3 separate regions of the Homo sapiens genome follow, and all the other regions are linked to region 2. The links are contacts of gene promoters, found by promoter capture Hi-C in human tissues and cell types (Jung and others, 2019). All regions are on one chromosome and are shown on one strand. Each heading gives the region's core, a stretch centred on a gene start or on the middle of the fragment in contact. The rest is flanking DNA. Distances are from core to core; before and after follow the strand shown. Region 1 overlaps SNX30 (sorting nexin family member 30). Region 2 holds the start of ZFP37 (ZFP37 zinc finger protein). Region 3 has its middle 34 kb from the start of SLC46A2.

Evidence for each region. The method cuts DNA at HindIII sites, captures the fragments that hold promoters and counts their contacts. A contact is called where the count stands out against the background at its distance.
Region 1: a fragment that was not itself captured here is called in contact with the fragment with the promoter of ZFP37 in region 2 in 1 of the 25 tissues and cell types used here (IMR-90 fibroblasts).
Region 3: a contact is called between a fragment that was not itself captured here and the fragment with the promoter of ZFP37 in region 2, in 6 of the 25 tissues and cell types used here (IMR-90 fibroblasts, lymphoblastoid cells, mesenchymal stem cells and 3 more).

The regions. Positions count from the first base shown.
Region 1 is chr9:112,836,756-112,839,455 of GRCh38, reverse strand. SNX30 (sorting nexin family member 30) reads right to left here. Exons shown (of 9, transcript NM_001012994.2): 6 at 759-958. Among named protein-coding and RNA genes, the nearest start is that of SLC46A2, 53 kb to the left of the region's middle. The HindIII fragment of the contact is 6,299 bases long and covers 1-2,700 here.
Region 2 is chr9:113,055,401-113,058,241 of GRCh38, reverse strand. ZFP37 (ZFP37 zinc finger protein) reads left to right here and starts at 1,518. Exons shown (of 4, transcript NM_003408.3): 1 at 1,518-1,685. The coding sequence starts at 1,554. RefSeq lists an enhancer at 1,318-1,887. The HindIII fragment of the contact is 44,168 bases long and covers 1-2,841 here.
Region 3 is chr9:112,923,304-112,926,069 of GRCh38, reverse strand. No RefSeq gene overlaps it. Among named protein-coding and RNA genes, the nearest start is that of SLC46A2, 34 kb to the right of the region's middle. The HindIII fragment of the contact is 4,076 bases long and covers 1-2,766 here.

The sequences.
Region 1 (2,700 bases), core at 97-2,596, 220 kb after region 2:
ACCGCTGCTAGACCAAAGCCATTCTCACTCTTGTTCCTTTTATACATCATCTGCCCCTCCCTCTGCTTTAAAAAGCTTTCAAATTCGTATCACTTTTGTTCTAAAATTCCACAATAATATGCTTTGGGCTGGTGATCTTTTCAATCCTTTTGCTGGGCAATTATCATGTCCTTTTAATCAGACGATTTATGTCTTCAGCTTTGGGGGACTTTCTTGTATTATTTCTTTTACAATTTCCTTCCCTCAGTCTTCCCTGTTCTCTCAGGAACTCTTATCAGTCGGATGCTGAACCTTTGGGATTAATTCCCTATGTCTCTTTTCTTTCATATTTTCAGTACTTTTGCATTTTTGTTCTATTTTCCAGCAACTTTTGTTTTGTCTTACTTTAAGATTTCTTCAATTTCACCTTCCAACTTGATTATTCAGTTTTATTTCAGCAATCATGTTTTAACTTCCAAGAGCTCTAATTATTACTTTTCCATGGCATCTTTGTTCTTATTTCATAGGCATTATATCTTCTTGAACTCTCAGAGAAACCAGTAAGAATTTCTTACCAAACTTTTTTTTTTGTTTAATTCACGTACTTCGTTCACCATGTGTTCCATTTATATGTCCATGATGTCAGTCCACGTGTCTGATCCTGCCCACCCAGGAAGAAGGAAACTTATATCACATGCAAACAGGCAATAATCCATTACTTTCTGATAACTGCTATTACAAAGAAAGTATGCAAATACACAAGAAGCAAGCCAGCTTACCTTCATGGAGTCAGAGTATAAAATATATTCCCTGAGCACAGGTAGGAAGTCTTCTGTCATGTCATCTGTCAGCTCTTCTAAGGCTGTAGAGCAGTTCCCAATGCAAGCTGACACACCCTCCAGGGGTTCAGCCAGCTCACCCTCCAAGGCGCTCCATGTGGAGTACACAGGCCCGTATTCTCTCAGCTCCACAAGGTACTCTGAACAGGGAACAGAAACTAATTAAAATCTGGCTGGGTAGCAGTTGCTGCTATTACTGACTCAGTAATCACCACAGCCAAGAGCTCTCTACATGAACATGTGTTTCTTTGGCCATTCACTCACCTGATCCCACTCTTCTTTAAACACAACACTGTTTCTAGCACAACTGCTTAAAAACCTCTGACAGCTCATGTTACATCAATCCATTCCATCCCGTGATGGGAATGCCATCCCTCTGGATAATGGGCCTTATGGGGAAAAGCAGTAGCAGCCACATCCACCAAACATCTTCGAAAATAACCACTCGCTGGCCTGGTGGTGGCTCATACCTGTAATCCCAGCACTTTAGGAGGCCAAGGTGGGTGGATCACAAGGTCAGGAGATCGAGACCATCCTGCTAACACAGTGAAACCCCGTTTCTACTAAAAATACAAAAAAATTAGCCGGGTGTGGTGGCAGGCGCCTATAGTCCCAACTACTCAGGAGGCTGAGGCAGGAGAATTGCTTGAACCCAGGAGGCAGAGGTTGCAGTGAGCCAAGATCACTCCACTGCACTCTAGCCTGGGCAACAAAGCGAGACTCCGTCAAAAAAAAAAAAAAAAAAAAAAAGAAAAGAACCACTCGCCTACCCATAGTGTGAAGCAGTATTTTAACAGGCAATGGAGGCAGAGTTTCATATAGGTTTAGGGAGATGTTTTTAAAGGTTAAAAAATAAAATCAGGGGCCAGGCACGGTGGCTCACACCTGTAATCCCAGCACTTTGGGAGGCCGAGGTGGGTGGATCATGGGGTCAGGAGATCGAGACCATCCTGACTAACATGGTGAAACCCAATCTCTACTAAAAATACAAAAAATTAGCCAGGCGTGGTGGCGGGCACCTGTAGTCCCAGCTACTCAGGAGGCTGAGGCAGGAGAATGGCGTGAACCCGGGAGGCGGCGCTTGCAGTGAGCCGAGATGGTGCCACTGCACTCCAGCCTGGGCGACAGAGCAAGACTCTGTCTCAAAAAAAAAACCAAAAACCAAAAAACGAAAAACAAAAACAGTCACAATGGATAAACAATGGAATTTTAGGAAACATTTTGATACAAGAGATGTGGTCTTACACTGGCAGACTCACTCTATCACTCGGTGGCCACCTCAGCCCCTTGGATCCCATCAGAATTTACTCTGCAAGATCCTTAGGTGTGGATGGTATCCACAGCTATCTCCAAAACCTATGGGCCCCACATGGTATCATCAGTGGGTCAAGTAGAGGGAACAAGTACAAGAAATGAGAAAAAAAAAATGTTGATTTTTTTCCCCCGTAAAGAAAATCTGGCCCATCATTTGTCACCAAGAGTCTTGCCATTGTTGCAACAGAACACAGTCATCATGGCTTAGTGACCGATGAATGGCAACTGCTGGGGAATCCTCAACGTGCTTCCCATGCCAGTGCGATCATTTACACTGCTCACGTCTGTCCGCCCCATGCATATGTAAGGAGATAAAAGATCCCAACATTATGGGATGTGGCAAAGCAGGTGGCCCCGAGAGGGGTGGGAAGGAAGTGGAGGCAAAAACGAGGAAGGATCAATACAGGCCCTGGCAACTCCCCCATGCAGGAGTGGGTTTAAAATGAACCACGGTGGGGTGGGTGAGTCAATTACAAGTCTGAAGATTCATCAGGGTCATAACTTTGGCAAACACAGGTCTCCATGCTATCTTTCTGAACCATCTTTCTGCCAGAAAAGGTATCTAAGT
Region 2 (2,841 bases), core at 269-2,768:
GACGCTCAAAGAATACTCTGTCAGGAACACAGTGTAGGGGGCCGTGTCTTAAGTAGGTGAAGAGTAATTTCAAGCCATCAATTATTTTTCAGTCTTCACTGAGTCCTTAGTTTAGTATTGCTGGATAACAAATTATCACCAGCTTTAGTGGATTAAAGTATCACAAACCTATTATCTCACAGATTCTGTAACCTGGAAGTCTGTGTATATCATGGTTAGGGTGATGGTTAATTTTATCGGTCAACTTGACTGGGCTAAAGGATGCCCAGAAAACTGGTGAAACATTGTTTCTGGGTTTGTTAGTGTGTTTCTGGGAAAAGATTAGCATTTGAATTAGCAAACTGAATAAAAAAGCCCCCACCAATGTGGGTGGCCACCACCTAATCCACTGAGGGCCTGAAAGGACAAAAAGGAAAAGGAAGGGTGAATCCTCTTTTCTATTTTTTTTTAATCTTTAACTTTTGTGGGTACATAGTAGGTGAGTATATTTATGGGGTACATGAAGTAGTTTGATACAGGCATGCACAGTGCAATAATCACATCATGGAAAATGGGGTATCTATCCCCTCAAGCATTTATCTTCTGTGTTACAATCCATTTATACTTTGTTATTTCGAAATGTACAACTAAATTATTATTGGATATATACACCTGTAGTGCTATCAAATACTAGGTCTTATTCCTTCTTTCTTTTCTTTTTTTTTAAAAACCCGTTAAGTATCCCCACTTCCCTCCCACCTTTTCTTTTTTCTTGAGCTGGGACATTCATCTTCTGCCTTTTGACATTGGAGACCCTGGTTTTCTGGCCTTTGGACTCTGGACTTACATCATCCCTACCCCTCTCCACTCTTTTTCCAGTACCTTGCATAGCGCAGCACCTAACCTGCACATATTCAATGAATGCAATTAATGCATGAAATGGCGCATTAAGGAATTATTTCTCCAAGTGCTTGATTATTCTGGTGAAATATCTTCACCAAACCCGGGCTCTCACGGAGGAGTGGTGTGTTTACTTAAGTTTCTGTTTCAGTTTTTCTTATTGTTCTTATACTATATATGAAAAGATTTATCGTATATCTCAAAGATTAACGTCCTCTCCCTATAAAATAATGTTATTTGTTCGATCAGGCTTTTCTCCGTTATGCTTCCAATTTCTCGCATCCTGCCTTTCTAAAGTCCGCACTAAGCGTTGTGATTCCCGGACTTCTAGCCGCTGGCCGCACTGACATGTATTCGGAAAAGCAATTCCAAATTCTGTAAAATATCTTCCGGCAGTGATGCGATCCGAACTCCGGCAGTGGGTTGTCAGGCCCAGGTCAGTCCTGTAGTGCGTAACGGAACTCGGTTCCGGCTGGCTCTGATCGCATCACTCCTGCATCCTGCAAGTAACGCCCTCGCCAGCTTCCACCTCCCGATCTAATTGTCCCAGAAGTCCCCGCACTTCCGCTGTACGGCTGAGTGTTTGCCAAGATGGCCGCGCCCGTGCGCTATTACCGAAGGGCGCCGCCATCGCGGCTGCCGGACCCGCTAAGGCCGCCCTCCGGGTAGCCGCCATGTCGGTCTCCAGCGGCGTCCAGATTCTGACAAAGCCAGAGACCGTGGACCGGAGGAGAAGTGCGGAAACGACCAAAGAGGCCGGGCGACCACTGGAGATGGCTGTGTCCGAGCCCGAGGCCAGCGCCGCGGTGAGAGCTGTGATGAGACAGGGTGTTTTGGCGGTCAGAGATGGTGTACTTGCGGGGCAGTGATTGGAGTAGTCTGTGACGATAGGTGATTTGGGAATTGGTGGAATCGATGCTAGATGGTCTTTTGGGAGGTCGGTGTTCTGAGTTATCTGTGGGGTTAATGATTTGGCTTTAGGATATCAGTATTAGGAGGGATCTGCAGAGACAATGATGGGGAGGCGTCTGTGGCAGTCACCGAGTGTCGGAGTTTGGAAGGAGATCAGAAATGGAGGCTTTGTGATGTGTCAGAGATAGGGAAGGACCGTGGGGGTTGGCGGTTTGGGATGTCTATGGGAGCCAGCGATTATGGGTGCCTGTGGTGGTTAGAGCCTGGGTTATCAAAGAGGGTCAGTGTTAGGATTTGGGAAATTCAGTGATTGGGAGCATCTGGGAGCATCAGAGATTGGGGCTTGGGAGTCAGTGACGGTGATGTCTGTGGAAGTTTGATTAGCAGTATCTTTGAGGGTCAGTGGGTAATGGAGGAATCGGGGGGCCAGTGAGGGGGGAATATGACTGTTGGAGTTTGGGGAGTCAATGTTGAGGTGTCTCTGGGGATGGTAGATGATTTGTATGTCATCTGGGGAGAAAAGGTAATTGGGGATGTATGCAGGTCAATAATTAGGTGGTGTCTAGCAGTAATAACTGTGCTTTGAGTAATGAGGTGATTAGTAGGAATTAATGATTGAAGATCCTCTATGATTCTGTGACTAGAAGTCTAAGGGGGTCAGGAGTTTGAGGGGATTGCTGCATTTAATGATTGAGGGTTCTTTGGTGGTCAGTGATTGGAGATCTGTGGAGGTTAATGATTGTTCTGTGGAGAGTGATAGTTGGGAACTTGCAGAGATCCATAATTGGGAGAAGTTTGTGAAGGTTAGTGATTGGGGAGTATTTGGGTGTCAGTGATTGAAAACTTGCAGGAACAGTAGGAACAGTCTGTAAGATGAGCATTTATTTTATGCCAGGGGGTATTTTTTATTTTATTTGTTTGGTGTTGTTGTTTTGCAGTCCCTGCTTTGTCCTCAAAACCAGGGAATGTTTTAAATGCTGGAGACACACCAGGAAACAAAACCAGAATCCCTCCCTCAATGACTTACATTATAGAAATATGAAAGATATC
Region 3 (2,766 bases), core at 259-2,758, 130 kb after region 2:
AGTTTTTTCATTTGAAAAAAAAAAAAAACTTAGAGTGTCTTTGGAAATTTCCTGTAAATCGAATCTTTAATATATTTTCTAATATGTGCATTTTATATTTATTATAATTATATAATGAAAAATAAGTCCCACATGATGCCCCTAAAGCTCCTCTAGCACACCACAGTGCATCATGTCAATATTATCACTTTCTATGTATGCTAATAATCTGAAAAATACTGGGAAGCTGGGAAGCACCGCTATAGATTCACTAAACAAATAATACAAAGCTTTGCATTCTTTAAAATTGAAGGTTATGTTCCAGGAAGATTAAACAGCAACTTTATAATGAACAGTCCAAGGAGAAATTTAGAAAGTGATTTACCTCCAAGAAGTAAAACCCGCTGACATGTAAATATCTTTAAAAAGAAGAAGAAAACACCGTTCCTCCTCAAAGCTGGTCTTATTTCTATGCTCCTCAGTTTACAATGGCAGCCATTTTCCCTCCCTTCCTGGGGAAAATAACAACCAGCCCATTATGGTGAATTCTCACAGTGACTAAGGTGGTCCTTCCCTGTGGTGTGAGCACTGTGAAGTTAGGTGTCTAGCATAATCCTGTGAGTTTTTATTTTGACATGTTTGAGCCACTTAAGGATAAATTACAGAGCACTGTGTATCAAGATGACAAAGACAGTCTCAAATTCATTAAAGTGTTGTGGAGGGCAGCGGGTACTTGAAAATTCTAAACAGGATTTGTCGACACGAATATTTTTCAAGAGATTACACAGGTCACTCGATATGGCAGAAGGGAAAACATGCTTTACAATGGTGACATCTGGCGGTCACCATCCAAATCAAATGATTAAGCATCATCAATAGTGGGGCAATCTGACATTGTGTCTCCTTATGTGATACAAAATGACTCCCACCGCATCGCCTACGACACATTCTTGCTAAAAATGTAAACTTGAACTTAAGCCTTTAGCCCTAGTCTCCAATTTAGAGGAAATTCAAGGGATACAGAAACAGGTTAAAAAACACTGTGAGAAAATTATCAAACAAATCCAGAAGGTGGGGTGTTTAAAAAGATAATTGTCTCTTTAAAAAGTCAGTATCATAGAAGCAAAAGTCAGGGGTGTAGAAAAACGTGGGAGCACTGTTCCCAGGGCACTGTTGATCACTGATCTATCACCTGAAGTTTCTATAAACGAAAATAGAACTGCATATTTTGGTAGATGAAGTGAAGAAGTGTAAGTTGTCTTTTCTTTCATTGCTTCTCCCAGTAACTTCAGCCAGAAGCAGCCTCTCCAAGGTTTAAAAATGGTCAACTTCTCTTTGATTTAATATCTCCATCTATAAGATTATTACAGTCGTCCCATAATTTGGAAAAGATTGAGAAGAGCTGATTGCAACAGTAACACAGTGCTCCTAAGGGTATAGTTCTGAATGGTCACCCTCCCTTCCTTCCCCTGATCGCAGGCAATCTCCAGGTTTCCATGGGCCCCAGAAGAGCAGGGAATCAGATCTGGTTCCAGTGGCCATCACCTCACAAACAAAACAATTGTCTCCATTCCTTCCCGGAAACCCACTCCACTTTTTCCTTTAAGCCCTCAAAACAGAGCCAGACTGTTTTCCCTTTCCCCAGACAATGGGGCTACTCACTTGTCCCCCTCCCCAAAAGGAGGCTACACTCAGGGACTCCAGGGGAACCCCTGTCTTACCTTCTAAGGAAGGATACCCTAAGTAATTTTTCTAAGGGACCTACTCTTTCTTAGGGAGCTTCTTCAGAAGCTACCTCTAATAAATACAAGGAGTGGAATGATTGGTTCATTGTAACAGAAGATTGGTGGGGGAAGAGGACCTACAAACTTAATCTCTAGTAATACATCATCTCTGGTAGGATACACCACTATATCTTATTCTGAAACATGATTTTTATTTAACCTAAAAAATAATATGAATTCACACCTTCTAAGTCAGCAAACCTCAGAAGGGAAAAAATAGAAAATAACAAGTGTTGGTGAGGATACAGAGAAAGTGAAACTCTTGCACATTGCTGCTGTGAATGTACAATGGTGAAGTCGAGGTGAAAAACAATTTGGCAATTCCCCCAAAAGCCCCAACATAGAATTTCTGCACAACCCAGAAATTCTACTCCAGGGTATACACCCCAAAGAGTTAAAACAGGAAATCATACAAATATTGGTCCACTCATGTTCATTACAGCATTGTTCACAGCAGCCAAAATGTGGAAACAACCCAAGTGTCCATGAACAGATGAATGGATAAATAAAATGAGGTACAAGCACACAATGAAATGGATTCAGCCCTAAAAAGGAGTAAAGTTCTGACCATACTCAACATGGACAGACCTTGAAAACATTATGTTAAATGAAATAAGCTAGATACAATAGGACAACTTAATTTTTTTGAACCCATACATATTTATTGATAATCTATCTTAACCATGACCCAAGTTAATGGACAATACAAGAGGTTTGCATGTAACCCAGAAGTTTGCAAGTTACAAACTATAGAACAATCATTTGACATAAGACTCAAAGTCTGTCCTTCAGCTCCAGACCCCCAAACCTCATCCCAGCCCTTCTTTCCAAGACAGGGTGGTCAACCACTTGCTAGGCCTCTAGTGATTATTTGCTTCCTTTGTATGTGTTTTCTCCTGATTAAAACAGAAACATTAAATCATGATTCTTGTGATTTGTGTCCACATTTCCAGAGCAGCTGATGCTGGTGCGCTAACAGCTCAACCTTCACCCAGCCCTCAAC